2 separate regions of the Homo sapiens genome follow, and region 1 is linked to region 2. Evidence: promoter capture Hi-C in human tissues and cell types (Jung and others, 2019). All regions are on one chromosome and are shown on one strand. Each heading gives the region's core, a stretch centred on a gene start or on the middle of the fragment in contact. The rest is flanking DNA. Distances are from core to core; before and after follow the strand shown. Region 1 overlaps LRBA (LPS responsive beige-like anchor protein). Region 2 holds the start of MAB21L2 (mab-21 like 2).

Region 1 (7,225 bases), core at 3,586-6,085, 160 kb after region 2:
AAGAAAGTTTTTTTTAATTAGCGAGGCATGGTAGTGCATGCCTATGGTCCCAGCTACTCAGGAGCCTGAGGCAGAAGCATCACTTGAGTCAATGAGTTTCAAGTTATAGTGAGCTATGATCACACCATGGCACTTCAGCCTGAGCAACAGAGAGAGATCCTCTCTCAAAACCAACCAACCAACCACCTAAGAATTCTATCCTCTTCAAGACCAGCCTGGGTAACATAGTGAAACCCTGTCTCTACTAAAAATATAAAAATTAGCCAGGCATGATGGCAGGTGCCTATAATCCCAGATACTAGGGAGGCTGAGGTGGAAGAATGGCTTGAACTTGGGTGGCGGAGCTTGCAGTGAGCCCAGATTGCACCATTGCGCTCCAGCCTGGGTGACAGAGCGAGACTCCGACAGAACGAATGAACAAACGAATGAACGAACGAAGGAAAAAGAGAGAGAGAGAAAGGAAAGAAAAGAAAAAAGAAAAGAAAAGAAAGACGAAAGAAAGAGAGAGAGAAAGAAAAGCATTCTATCCTCAGTAAGTATCCTTCAATAATGAGATTTAAAGGGTCAAGAGTATACCACTGTGGGAAAAAAAAAAGAGTATTTTTCTGAACTTTCTTTATCCACCTAAATGAAGAAGCTCCCAAAAGAATTTAGCTTTCATCAATCCCTTCCCAGGGAGTTTTGCAACCAAGGAAGATTGACTATTGTCAGTAAAGATGAGAAGTTAGTACCAGGATGAGAAATTATCTAAATAGACATTGATACAAAACTATAATATCACTTAACTATTCTCCTAAGGGCCCACTTACTGTTCACAAAATCATTAGCTTTCCCAAATGTGCCCTTCATTACTTCACTTTTACCCTATTAAAATGGTATGTATATAACCCCAAATTCTAACCCCCTCCTCAAGTCACATTTTTCTCTGAATCTTTTTTTTTTTTTTTTTTTTTTTTCTGAGACGAAGTTTCGCTCTGTCGCCCAGGCTGGGTATAATGGCACAATCTCGGGTCACTGCAACCTCTGCCTCCTGGGTTCAAGCGATTCTCCTGCCTCAACCTCCTGAGTAGCTGGGATTACAAGTATTCACAATCATGCCAGGCTAATTTTTGTATTTTTAGTAGAGACGGGGTTTCACCATGTTAGCCAGGGTGGTCTTGAACTCCTGACCTCAGGTGATCCGCCCGCCTTGGCCTCCCAAAGTGCTGGGATTTCAGGTGTGAGACACAGCAGCCGGCCGAATTCTGACAGACTTATGACTAAAAATAGGTCTTTTTTCTTGCTAAGCTGTGTTTGTCTGTTTAATTCACAGGTCCCCAAACAACAAACCTAAGAGGGTAGAGGAAAACTTTTCCTCATCATCAAAAGCAAAATAAGAACATTCCATGACAAATAAAATAGTGAGAATTTGTCACCAGCCAACCAACATACTTCACAAGGATGAAAAATAATATAAGATTGATACAAGTCAAGGAAAACAATTGGAGCAATGAAAATGACAAACGTGGGTAAATCTAAAAGTATACTGAATGTTTACAATAATTATGTAACTTCTAGAATTAAAAAATACTGCAATCTAAAATATATAACCACAGCATACAAGGCAAGAGAAACCAACTGAATTAGTGTTATAAGTTTCTTGTGTCATACATCAATTGGCAAAAGAATCAGTTTATGTAAGATGTTAATTATAATATTCATACTACAATCTCTGGGTAACCACTAAAGTTATTTAAAATAATATATAACCAACAAGCCAATGGGAAAAAAATTAAGCAACAAATACTTAGCTCAGAAGAAGGAAAAAAAAAAGAAACACAAGATGTGGAGCAAATATAAAGGACATAAATAATAAGATGATAAATTTTAACCTAAACATATCAGAAATACATAGAAAGTAAACATTTAGTAGTAAAATTATTGTCAAATCAATTTTTTAAGGCATATGATGCTTGTAAGTGACACAATTTCAATATAAGGTTAAACAAAGATTGAAAAGTATAATTTCAGAAAACATGAACAATTTTTAAAAGCTAAAAGGTAATAAACTTTTTTTAGTATGAGAAGCAAACAGAAATAAAATAAACCTGTTAAATTAATAAAAGGATAAATGAACTAGAGATACAGAAATTTAGTATTTTGAGATTCTAAATTTGTATGCTCTTAAGAATATGGCCTACTACCAGATATAGAATATATAAAGCTATAGAATATTTTTTAACCTGACCTGACTGACATATCGAGAACATTATACCCAGTAAGTGAATAATAAATATTATTTTCAGGTAAACATGGAACATATTAAAAAAAACAGGCAAAATGCGGGGTCACAAAGCAATTTACAGTGAATTTCAAATGATGGAATCATACTCAGTATGTTCTTTGATACATTTCAATTAAACTAGAAATAACAGGATACAGATCACTCTGCAAGAAGCTCTAAGCTGACCACTGACTTTCCTAACCTCCTGGTATCCACAGCATTATGTAATCTTCCCCTTTAGAGTGTAAGAAGGAGATGGGGCTTGCCTCGAAGCAAGAAAATATGGCAACAATGAAGGAATAACACTTCAATAATTACATTAAATAAGATGGTAACTTGCATCTTGCTAGCAGACTCTATTGACGCTCTCCCTTAATGGCTTAGCTAAAGAAAGCTGTCATGTTATGAGCTGCCCTGTGTAAAGGCCTCCATGGCAAGGAGCTGAGTAGAGCCCCAGACAACAGCCCGCAAAGAATTCAGACTCTCAGTCTAACGACTCAAAAGGAAGTGAATCCTGCCAACAATCACATGATCATGGAAGCAGATCCTTTCCTAGTCAAACATCAAATAAGACTGCAACTCTGGCCAGCACCTCAATTGCAGCCTTGTAAGTGAACCTGAAGGAGAGGCCCAGCTAAGCCATGCCTAGGATTCCTGACCAAGAAAAATTGAGATAACAAATGTATGTTTCTTTAAGGCTAAGTTGTGATAATATTGTTAACACAGCAGTCGCTAAGTAATATCATTTCATGTCTAAAAATTAAAGAATGCACCTCTGAAAAAAACGCACACATAAAAGAATACATCATAATGGAAATTAGGAAACGTTTGCAGTAAAACATAGTAAAAACAATGTGCCAAAATCTGTGGATTTAGATAAACCTTAAACCAATGCTTAGAGGGAAATTGATACACTGAATAAAAACACTAAAGAAGAAAAAAATTGTCAAAATAAATTATGCAAGTATTGAACTGAAGAAATCAGAAAAAGAACAGCCAGTGAACACTGAAAGTTAAATAAGGATAAGAACAGAAATTAAATAGAAAATAAAAAATACACTTTAGAAGATAAAGTTAACAGTTAGTTATTTGAAATACTGAAAAAATCCAAAAGAAAAATGTAAACAATTAAAAGTAATAATTGAATTTAGGAGGGTCACTGGATTTAAGGCAAATACACAAAAATCAACTAGATTATATGTATAGGTTACTAACAAAGTAAAAATGGTTTTTAAATACTATTTTGAAAAGCATTCAAAACCATCAAAATATGTAGGAAAAAGAAACAAAAATGTGCTAGAATTCTGCATGTCAAACAGAAAGAATGGTAAAAAAAAAAAAAAAAGTTAAAACTTAAAGAAAAAAGTATACCATGTTCATGAAAGGGAAAGGCTTGTATTAAAGATATCAATTCTCCACAAAGCTATTTATAGATACAGTCCAATCAAAATCCTAGCAGGTCTTTCTGCATAATCTGATGAGTTCAAATTTAATTCTAAAATCTATAGAAAATGTAAACAAACAAGAATACATGAGACATTCTTAAAGAGGGGAAGAGAGATGATAATAATGATAATGATATTAAAAGACTTATAAGTAAGATGGTCTTTTCCAAAAACTGGTCTTAGATCAATCAACTGATGCTCATATGGACAAATTAACCCTGACTTCTACCTCAAACCATACAAACAAACCAATTCCAAATGAATCCTAGACAAGACCTAAAGATTTCAGGAAGTTTAAAAAGTTTCTAGAAGATTACATAAGAGAGCATCTTCCTGACTGGGTCGATGTAAAGACTTACTGCACCAAACAAAAATACACAAAACATAAGAAAAATAGTGACAAAATGAACTACATCAAAATTTAAAGACTTGTGCTTATGAAAGCCACCACTAAGAGAATTAAAAGCCAAACTTCAGAGAGAGAGAATATACTTGGAAAAATTACAACCAACGAGGAACTGCTATCTTAAATATATTAAAAAGCCTCTTACAAATAAAAGAAAATGATCACAATTTTTAAAATGGGAAAAGTACACAAGCACTTCACAAAAGAAGATTTCCAAATGGTGAATAAGATTATGAAAAGTTGTTCAGGATTACTAGTCATCAAGGAAATAAAACTTAAAACCATAAGATATACTATACTCCACAGAATGGCTATATATGTTTAAAAGGCTGGCATCACCAAGTTATATCAAAGATGTGAAGTAACAGGGACTCTTATAATCACAAAATCGATTAATAAAAATGTTCATGGCAATTATTTACAATAGCCAAACACTAGCAACTACCCAAATGTCCATTAAAAATAAAACTAATTTTTAAAATGTTGGACTTTCATAAAGTAAAATGCTAAGTAGGAAAAAAAAGAATCAATATTATGCATAACAATATGAATTTCACTAACAATATGAATTTCACTAACAATATTGAGCAAAAGCACACAAAAAATATAAAATGTATGAATTGCCTTGTATAAAGATAAAAATTTTTAAAAACAAAACTATGGTATTAGAAGTTAAGAGATTAAGAAATGGTAACCTTCAGTGCTACCTCTCCATATGAGGACTCACACGGAACACTGATAATGGCCACGGAGTTCTAAATATTTTAATAAAATGTCTTAGATGTATAAACAAACGACCCATTCTGATTAGCGCTTTTATAACACCATTTACTTATAAACATATCAACAGAATGATTCACTTTATGTAATCTGGAACATTTTTGATATGTATAGGTCTTCTAAACTTCCTTCTTTAATAGGAGTTGAGAACATAGAGCGGGCAGGGATAGAATTATTATTATTATCATTATTATTATTATTATTATTTTTTTTTTTTAGGGACAGAGTCTCGCTCTGTCACCCAGGCTGGAGTGCAGTGGTGCAATTATGGCTCACAGAAACCTCAACCTCCCAAGCTCAAGTGATCTGCCTACCTCAGCCTGCTGAGTAGCTGGGACTATATACATGTGCCATCGTACCCTGTAAGTTATTTTGGTGGTGTTGTAGAGACAGGGTCTCACTATGTTGCCTATATTGGTCTCAAACTCCTGAGCTCAAGTGATCCTCCTGCCTTAGCTTCCCAAAGTGCTGAAATTATGGGCATGAACATACATGGCCTGCAAGGATTATTTTTTTAAATTTATATAACAAAAGTGGCTAAACTGCCACTAGAAAATGCCCACCTACAAAAGTTACACCTAGCAGTCATCAACAATGACATGAACTTACTCCCATTCCACAGGGCACTTGCCTCACTTTGTAGCAATGTTTTCATTTAAAATATAAATAAGGCCAGGTACAGTGGCTCATGCCTACAATCCCAGCACGTAGAAAAGAGACTCCTTGAGCCCCAGGAGTTTGAGACAAGCCTGGGTAAAATAAAGAGACTTCTTCTCTACAAAAAAACACCAAAAACAACAAAATTAGCTGAGCATGGTGGTACACATCTGTAGTCTCAGCTACTCAAAAGGCCAAGGCAGGAGAATCACCTAAGCCCAGGAGGTAGAGGCTACAGTGAACCATGATGGCATCACTGCACTGCAGCCAGGGCGACAAAGTAAGAACCTGTCTCAAAACAAAAAACAAAACAAAAACAAAAAAAGAGCAAACATAAACTTGGATCCAAAGCAATTGTCACAAAAATTGTTTTTATTTTTTTGGAGATAGAGTCTCACTCTGTTGCCCAGGCTAGAGTACAGTGACAGGATCTCAGCTCACTGCAACCTCCGCTCCCTGGGTACAAGTGATTATCATGTCTCAGCCTCCCAAGTAGCTGGAATTACAGGTACATGAGTCACCACCCCCGGCTAATTTTTGTATTTTTAGTAGAGGTGGGGTTTCACCATGTTGGCCAGGCTGGTCTTGAATTCCTGACCTAAAGTGATCCACTTGCTTTGGCCTTCCAGGGTGCTGGGATTACAGGCGTGAGCCACCGCGCCTGGCCAGCAGTCTTAATAATGCGCTATATGAACATGTTCCCACAATGCAGAAAAACATGTGGAAAATATTCCTCATGAATCAATTAATTTCACTACAACACTATTTATGAAAGTGAGAATCTTAAAGAATCAAAATATACAATCATATAAGTAGATTGTTCCAAATTGACAAAATAATGTCCACAATATACATTAAGAGGAAAAATAAACCTGAGGAATATTATGAACAATATGAGCTTGGGGAACATATAAAAGAAAATACACTTTCTTTTAATTGCCAATAATCTAGAACAGGGGTCAGCAAATTAAGGCCTGTGTGCCAAATCTAGCCTGCCAACATTTTTTGGTTAGTAAGTTCTATAAGAGCACAACTAGGCCCATTTGTTTAAGTGTTATCCATGGCTGTTTTCAACTCACCATACTACACTGAGTTGACCAGTTGTGAAAAAGACCATGTGTACTGCAAGGCCTAAAGAACTATCTGGCCTTTTACAGAAAAAGCATGCACATGTCTGGGCTAGTGAGTGAGGCTTAAGTCCTCCTCCTTACATGTCTCTGTTCTTTGAAGCTTTACAACAATCAATAATCAAAAGAAAGGAAAACAGAAAATCCTTAAAGAAAATAAAAAAGCTTTCTGCCATTCTATCACTTTGTTTCGATCTCTATTAGGCTCACATACACTATTTTAATTTGACTCCAGCTCTGTCAGACTCTCTCTTCTATCCCCAAACTGTCTTCCAGCTACTTTAGAAGTTAATGCAATTTCTTATCTATGATTTTGGGGTGACATCATCAGGGTATTTTTTTTCAAATGCTATTAAACAGTACTCATTTAGGCATTACAGACAAAAACCATCCCTAGTGTAATTTTAAAACCCACTAATGAATAACTTCCTCTGATTCTACGATAGAAAAAACAAGGGCTTTCAAGAGTACAGATGTGAAATACTGGTTTGGGTTCTTAATTTCCCTCTAGAGACCTAAAACCACATTGTGAATTTAACATCAATAT
Region 2 (6,917 bases), core at 3,419-5,918:
GCACCCACATAGATGTTTCAAAGTTAGAATTTAGAGGATAAGACTATATACCAGTAAACACGTGGTCCTTTGTTTTCCAAAAAGTATAAATCCTCCAGAAATGCTTTCTTTTCTTAAGTCAATAATCTGATTATTTTTTGAAAGCTTCTAAAATATTTCCTGGAAAATAAGATCATGTATTCTAAAATTTGTTTACTCTTTAGTAAAGATTATTGAGATACAATATATTATTTTTACAGATAATAAAATAATAGATACCTTTTAAGTCTCGTTAACATGATAAAGTAACAAATGCACTGACGTTAACTCAGTAAATACATTTTTAAGTAAAGATCAGCAAAAAATAAAACAGTTTAAGAATTTTGTATTCTCTGGAAACATAAACAGGATTATAACTGTCAGATTACAGAAGCACTGACTTCAGCCATTAGTTTGGTTTGGCTCCTGAGAAACACAACATGAACTACTGCATCATTTCTTTTCAAATCCATACATTCCCTGCAGCCGTTCAAGCTTCATCAGCAGTGCAGGAATGTATAAAAATGACAGGCAAAGGGCATTAGGTTTTTTTACTTCCATACTGTTTTCCTATAAATGGAAGACAGGATTCTTTCTCAAAGCACTTAAGCTCAAGCTCAGTCAATGCTGAAGGAAAAATACAACTGAATTCTCTATGCAAGAAAGTATCACAATTGGATTATTTACTACTTTTCAAGGACATGTTGATAAATCTAATACTGTATTATTATCTTAGAATAAAACATTGTAAGGTTAGCATTCTAGCTTAATTACCCATTATTCTTCAATTAGAAATATTTTCACTTTTTAAAGTACTCTGTCAACTCATCACCTTATTTTAACACCAAGTATTCAGTTTTGCTTCTAATTTTAATTATAAAAATTTCCTTAAAATATGCCAATTTTTTTTGAAAATATATTTGTATAAATAGTTAATTTTTTATTTCCAAGTTTCTGTACTCATAAAGGTTTCGGTGAAATAGGAAATTCCATTAATAATTAAAAGTTTATTTAACCATGATAAGTAAAAATAGGATGTAATGAGTAATCTGGTTATTTGACTGGACCTTAAACATTCACATTGCTATAAAACTAGTACCGTAATTACTACAACCTGACTCAATTTTTTGAAGAAACTGGGAAATTTTCAGACTAAAGTTTTAAACATCCTCATATTTTAGTTTATAGTAACTAAAAACATGCCCACTTCAGTACTATCACCTACATTCTTTATGTTCCTAATGTAATGATGCAAGAGGTAAAGCCTAGAGAAGTCTGAAGGTTACGGACTACCTGATATCCAAAACAAAAAATTCAGATCACACCCTGAATGTCCTCCTTCCCTTTTTAGGAATGTCCTGCAGCTAGCCCAGCACCACAGCTCTGGGCTGAAGCATGCCAATGTTGGCACTGCCTAAGCCAAACAAACAAGATGTTTAACAGTCAAATAAAATGTCCTGCAGCCTCCCTAATGAATTTGTCAAGGACCATCAGATTTCGCACCCCCTCCTTTGCCTCATTAACTCAAGTATGATGAGACGGATTATAACAAGAGAATACAGATGAATCGGTCTGAAGACTTGAAGTGGCTTTTAGCCTCTAGAGTTTCTTTCTCTCACTTGGTCTCCTTTAATAGAATATAGTATCTCCTGCAGAAGGAGCTGCCAGTTCGTTTTAATACACCATCAAGGAGCTGCTGATGGACTTCTATACTAACATACATAAAAGCAGAGGTGACAGGGGCTCTTCAATTACAGCCTCCTCGGATACCGTTTCCCCCTTCAATTATTCAACCAGAGGAAGAGAGGACCGCAAAGGCGCAGCTGAAGCTGCTCTTAGAGCAGAGGCAGCCAGAGTGAGTTGGGGTGGGGGAGGGGGGAGAAAGAGAACCAGCAAGAGGGAGCATTATTTGCTGGAAGTGTTTAAGTTTATTGCTCGAATGATGTTTCTAATTAGTACCACGGCCATAAATTAAAGTCGCCTTTGTTTAACTGATTTATTATTTACTAGAGCATCTACCTAAGACAGGGTAAATTGGTAATGAATTGTTTTTAAATCAAAACATTTGTAACGTTTTATCATCCTTCCCTCTGTATGTAAAAGTGGAGAAGCGTAGGGGCAAGGATGCGAGAAAACTTAGCCGAGCTTGACAGAGCCGCCAGTGGAGGTGCAGCGGAGTGTCCGGCGAGTGGTGGCGCGAAGGTCCGCTCGGCCTGGGACGCCCCACCCGAGAGAAGAGGAGAAGGCGCAGGACTTGCGGCGCGGCGGCGGAGCCATGCGAACCAACTCCGCCACCCCTGAGGCTGTTTGCAAACACTCACTCTCGGGAGCGTCGCGGGCCGGGCCATTCGCGAACCAGACGCAACGACGAAGCGACCACCTCGAGAGTGGGGCGGGAAAGCTCCGCACCCTCTATCCCCGCCACCAGTCTCCGCCCAGTAACTGCCCCCGGAGAAGCAACCACGGAGCCCCTCCCGGCCAGTCGCGCTCTCCCGGCAGCGCAGTGCCCTCCGGCCCAGGCAGTTCCCAGAGCGCCGGCAAGGCCTCCCGGGTTAGAGCCGGGCTCCCACAGGCGCGAACTCCGAGGGCGCGAGGTCCCCTAGATCCTTAGGCGGCGAGGCGTTCCGGGACGCACGCGGCCTCCCCGGAGAAGGCTGGAGGTCAAGCAGCCCAAGTCTCTGCCACTCCAGAGAAGTTAACTAAAGCTCTGGAGTCCAAGAGTCGCGCGGACACTTAATTCTGACTCTTCTTCCTAATCGCGGGAAGACAAACCCTAAGCAACAAATCCGAGATAGTTTTTTTTTAAGCAAATATTCCTTAGAAAGGGACTTATGGCAACGAGAGAGGAAGGGTGACAAACTGCCTGTGGTCCGCACCAGGTATGTAAGAAAGAACCAAGAGGCCCAATTGTCTGATACCAAGTAGATAGAAAGAAATTAACTTCCCTATGCAATTCAATTCAGGTTCACCCGGCCGGACTTTAAGAGGGTAAGTCAAGCCCTCCCAAGGGGTTTTGAAAAAGCCGAACTACCAGGTTTCTAAAACGAAGTCTTCACCCAAATGGACGCATAGATTTTTATTTTTATCGCATAACCCAGGGCTGGAATATAACCTCCCAAATCAAACTAAAAATAATCACATCTACCTGAAATACGTTAAAAAGATTCAGAATCCAGACATCTTAGGTTCATACATAAACCCTCAGTATCAAGCAAATCAGAAACAATGTTCTAGCTTTTTTTTTCACCCAAAAGTATGGAAAGGCTACAGTGGGTACAACTCGTTTAGGATAATACATATACTAAAAGCACATGCATGCCTTTCATTGAAATGCCTAGGGAGGAGTGAAGCCATCTGTGTAATCAATAACAGGATAGTTATAGATTTTTGTGGCAGTGAAGTCTTTTAAAAGCAAGAGTCAATTATGAAAATAAAATCATTTTACAAATGAAACTCTGTACCTGTACCCCCTAAGAATACATTCACAATTAGATTTACAACAGTAAGATTTTAAGAAAACTTTAGGTTTACATTTACTTGCCTTGTTTTTCATTAAGTTTGAAGCAATTTTAGTAGCTTATTTTAAAAGTATATCCTACTAAGTTCTACGACATGTAAGTTTGCACCATTTCTCACAACTTAGATATTTTCTCTCTCGTAACTAGTTAATTCTTGTAACGATAAAATAATGGTATTAAATACATGTGAATCTTAATTATGAAATAATTATCAAACAAGGTGCTTGGACTAGTTTTTGCCCTGCCCTGTTTTTAAACAGCATATCGAAATTACTAAAAAGAGATTTATAAACCCTCACCTTATATCCACTCCAACCCTCACTGGTGCACATATACAGCAACTGCTCTGATTCTTGGCAACAATGGGAGGGGAGGGGAAGAGAAAGGAGGATGACTTTAAAGGAGGAAAAAACCTGGAAAAATTAGGTCCTTTCCCAGATTCCCCTTTCGCTTCCCATTTGCCTTCAAGCCAAAGTAATTTTGTTACAGTTTGCACCTTCTACTACACAATGTTGATAGAATCATTTAAAAAAAAAAAAAGTGAACCTTTCTGAACCATTGCTACTCTCCCTCGCGTTATTCCAGCCATCTCCAGGAGAGTCCCTTCTATATAAACTCTTTTTCTTCTTTGCTACTGATAAGAGAGGAGGATAAAGAGGAACGGCTGTAAAATGTGTGCAAGCATTTGACTCCCATTATCTCCTCCTATTTTCTTACTTCTCTCTTTACCCTGTTTCTTTATCAAGTGCAGTGGTGGCTGCTACCGTTCGCCAAGCGTGCCTGTCTTCTCTCTCGGATTGGCTAAAGCACTGACAGCTCGGATAGCGATTGTAGGAACTGAAGCTCCACCCCCTCATGATGGCCCTGGGACCATTCATAAACTAAATAACTCCAGGAAACAGCGAGGGAGAGAGAGAAAGAAAGAGAGAGGGAGAGAGAGAGACAGAGAGAGTTAGAGGAAAGAAGAGAGAGCGAGCACGAGGAAGGGGGGCGGGGGAGAGAAGCAGGGGGAGAGCGGGGCGAGAAAGAGGTCGGAGGGGAGAGGAGGGGGAGAGACGACTCAGAAAGTGGAATCTGTAAAAGCAAGCTAGAGGAGAAGAAGGAAAACCCTGAATCGTTATAACTACACCCCAGATGCAACGCAAGCAACGACTTCGTCACACTAAAACGGATTTTGTGAGGGCCAAAAGTATAAATTACGAAGCAGAAATGATTATCAAACAACTTCCAGCGGTTTGCACCTAAAGAAACACAAGGAGAACCCACTACAAACAAACAAACCCAGTCCAAACAACGCCTCCAGTAGGAAAAGAGGAAAACTGCGATAACACGACCCCCCGAGAAGAGACGAGACCAACACGCTGAGACTGTGGGGCGTCAGCAAACCTCCAAGTGCACGGCGGACTGAGTTGTACTTCGCAGCTCTCTGGACATTAATTACCTCCTGCACCTTCCATTTGGGGGAGGGTGAGGAAGAAGGCACTCACCTACACTGAGCGAAGAAGTCCTATCAGCGTGGAAGAGAAGTTTAAGAATGAACCACTGAATGTTTCGCTTTTATTTTTAAATTTACTTTGGCACTTAAAAAACCTCATTTCCAGATTTCTGGACAATCTCGGCTGCAGACATCTAAGCCTAACCTTTTGGTATCCTGAGTTTTTTCCCTCTCCTTCTCCTTCCTCACGCCCACCCCGCTTCTCTCGCACACGGTCATCTTTACATATCAAGAGAAAGCAAAAAGGTTCCAAGAGGTACTTTTCTTTTTAGAAAATCACCTTTTCTCCCCTAATTCTTCTGCAGAAGAAAAGAGGTTTCGAAAGAGGGAAAAGGAAAAAACAAGCCGGCTACGGTATCAGCCGGTCAGCCCAGGTGGAAAACGAGAGTGAAAGTAGGGCTTAACGGGGAGCGCACCGCCTCTTTCGAAAGCCGCTGGGCCACCACCAGTGCGTGAGCCTTGGATCCCTCAACGTATTGCGAGACGCCGGTGTATAGCCCGGACCTGTGCCCCAACATGATCGCCGCTCAGGCCAAGCTGGTTTACCAGCTCAATAAGTACTACACTGAGCGCTGTCAGGCGCGCAAGGCGGCCATCGCCAAAACCATCCGAGAGGTCTGTAAGGTGGTCTCGGACGTGCTCAAGGAAGTGGAGGTGCAGGAGCCTCGCTTCATCAGCTCCTTGAGCGAGATCGATGCCCGCTACGAGGGGCTCGAGGTCATTTCGCCCACCGAATTTGAGGTGGTGCTCTACCTAAACCAGATGGGCGTCTTCAACTTCGTGGACGACGGCTCGCTGCCCGGCTGCGCAGTGCTCAAACTGAGCGATGGGCGGAAGCGGAGCATGTCTCTCTGGGTCGAGTTCATCACGGCGTCGGGCTATCTCTCAGCGCGTAAGATCCGCTCGCGTTTCCAGACGCTGGTGGCCCAGGCGGTGGACAAGTGCAGCTATCGGGATGTGGTCAAGATGATCGCGGACACCAGCGAGGTCAAGTTGCGCATCAGGGAGCGCTATGTGGTGCAAATCACTCCGGCGTTCAAGTGCACCGGGATCTGGCCTCGCAGCGCGGCACAGTGGCCTATGCCCCACATCCCTTGGCCCGGCCCCAATCGGGTGGCCGAGGTCAAGGCCGAAGGGTTCAACTTGCTCTCGAAGGAGTGCTACTCGCTGACCGGCAAGCAGAGCTCGGCAGAGAGCGACGCCTGGGTGCTACAGTTCGGGGAGGCGGAGAACCGCCTGCTGATGGGCGGCTGCCGAAACAAGTGCCTCTCAGTGCTGAAGACTCTGCGGGACCGCCACCTGGAGCTACCCGGCCAGCCGCTCAACAACTACCACATGAAGACGCTGCTGCTGTACGAGTGCGAGAAACACCCACGAGAAACGGACTGGGACGAGTCGTGCCTGGGCGACCGGCTCAACGGCATCCTGCTGCAGCTCATCTCCTGCCTGCAGTGCCGCCGCTGCCCTCACTACTTTCTGCCCAACCTCGACCTCTTTCAGGGCAAGCCCCATTCGGCCCTGGAGAGCGCTGCCAAGCAGACCTGGAGGTTGGCCAGGGAAATTCTCACCAATCCCAAAAGCCTGGACAAACTATAGGGTGCTGGGGACTGCTTGAAAAGCGACACAAACGGGCGTGCTCTCTCAGACACACAACTCTGCTATAAACAGCAGAAACTCTGGACACAAACTTTTATGTAAGTCACCTGAAATAGGAATCCGGCAGAAGACCTTCATTAATTAAGAAGCAAACAAAAAGAGAGCAACCCAACCAAAACAAATCACATTCTTGCACAAAAGTGATCGTTTTCTTCCAAACAATGTGAATTTAAAAGGTCACACAAAAGAAGCAATCGGGCTCCGCCACCACAAAATGAAACCCAAGGTAC

The links. The method cuts DNA at HindIII sites, captures the fragments that hold promoters and counts their contacts. A contact is called where the count stands out against the background at its distance.
Region 1: a contact is called between a fragment that was not itself captured here and the fragment with the promoter of MAB21L2 in region 2, in 1 of the 25 tissues and cell types used here (lymphoblastoid cells).

The regions. Positions count from the first base shown.
Region 1 is chr4:150,737,052-150,744,276 of GRCh38, forward strand. The region is part of intron 35 of LRBA (LPS responsive beige-like anchor protein); the gene reads right to left. Among named protein-coding and RNA genes, the nearest start is that of MAB21L2, 160 kb to the left of the region's middle. The HindIII fragment of the contact is 3,953 bases long and covers 2,860-6,812 here.
Region 2 is chr4:150,577,483-150,584,399 of GRCh38, forward strand. It overlaps MAB21L2 (mab-21 like 2), which reads left to right and starts at 4,669. Exons shown (of 1, transcript NM_006439.5): 1 at 4,669-6,917. The coding sequence starts at 5,548. The coding sequence ends at 6,627. The region is part of intron 40 of LRBA (LPS responsive beige-like anchor protein); the gene reads right to left. It overlaps LRBA-AS1 (LRBA antisense RNA 1), which reads left to right and starts at 1,607. Exons shown (of 2, transcript NR_149035.1): 1 at 1,607-1,873; 2 at 2,122-3,752. The HindIII fragment of the contact is 7,167 bases long and covers 329-6,917 here.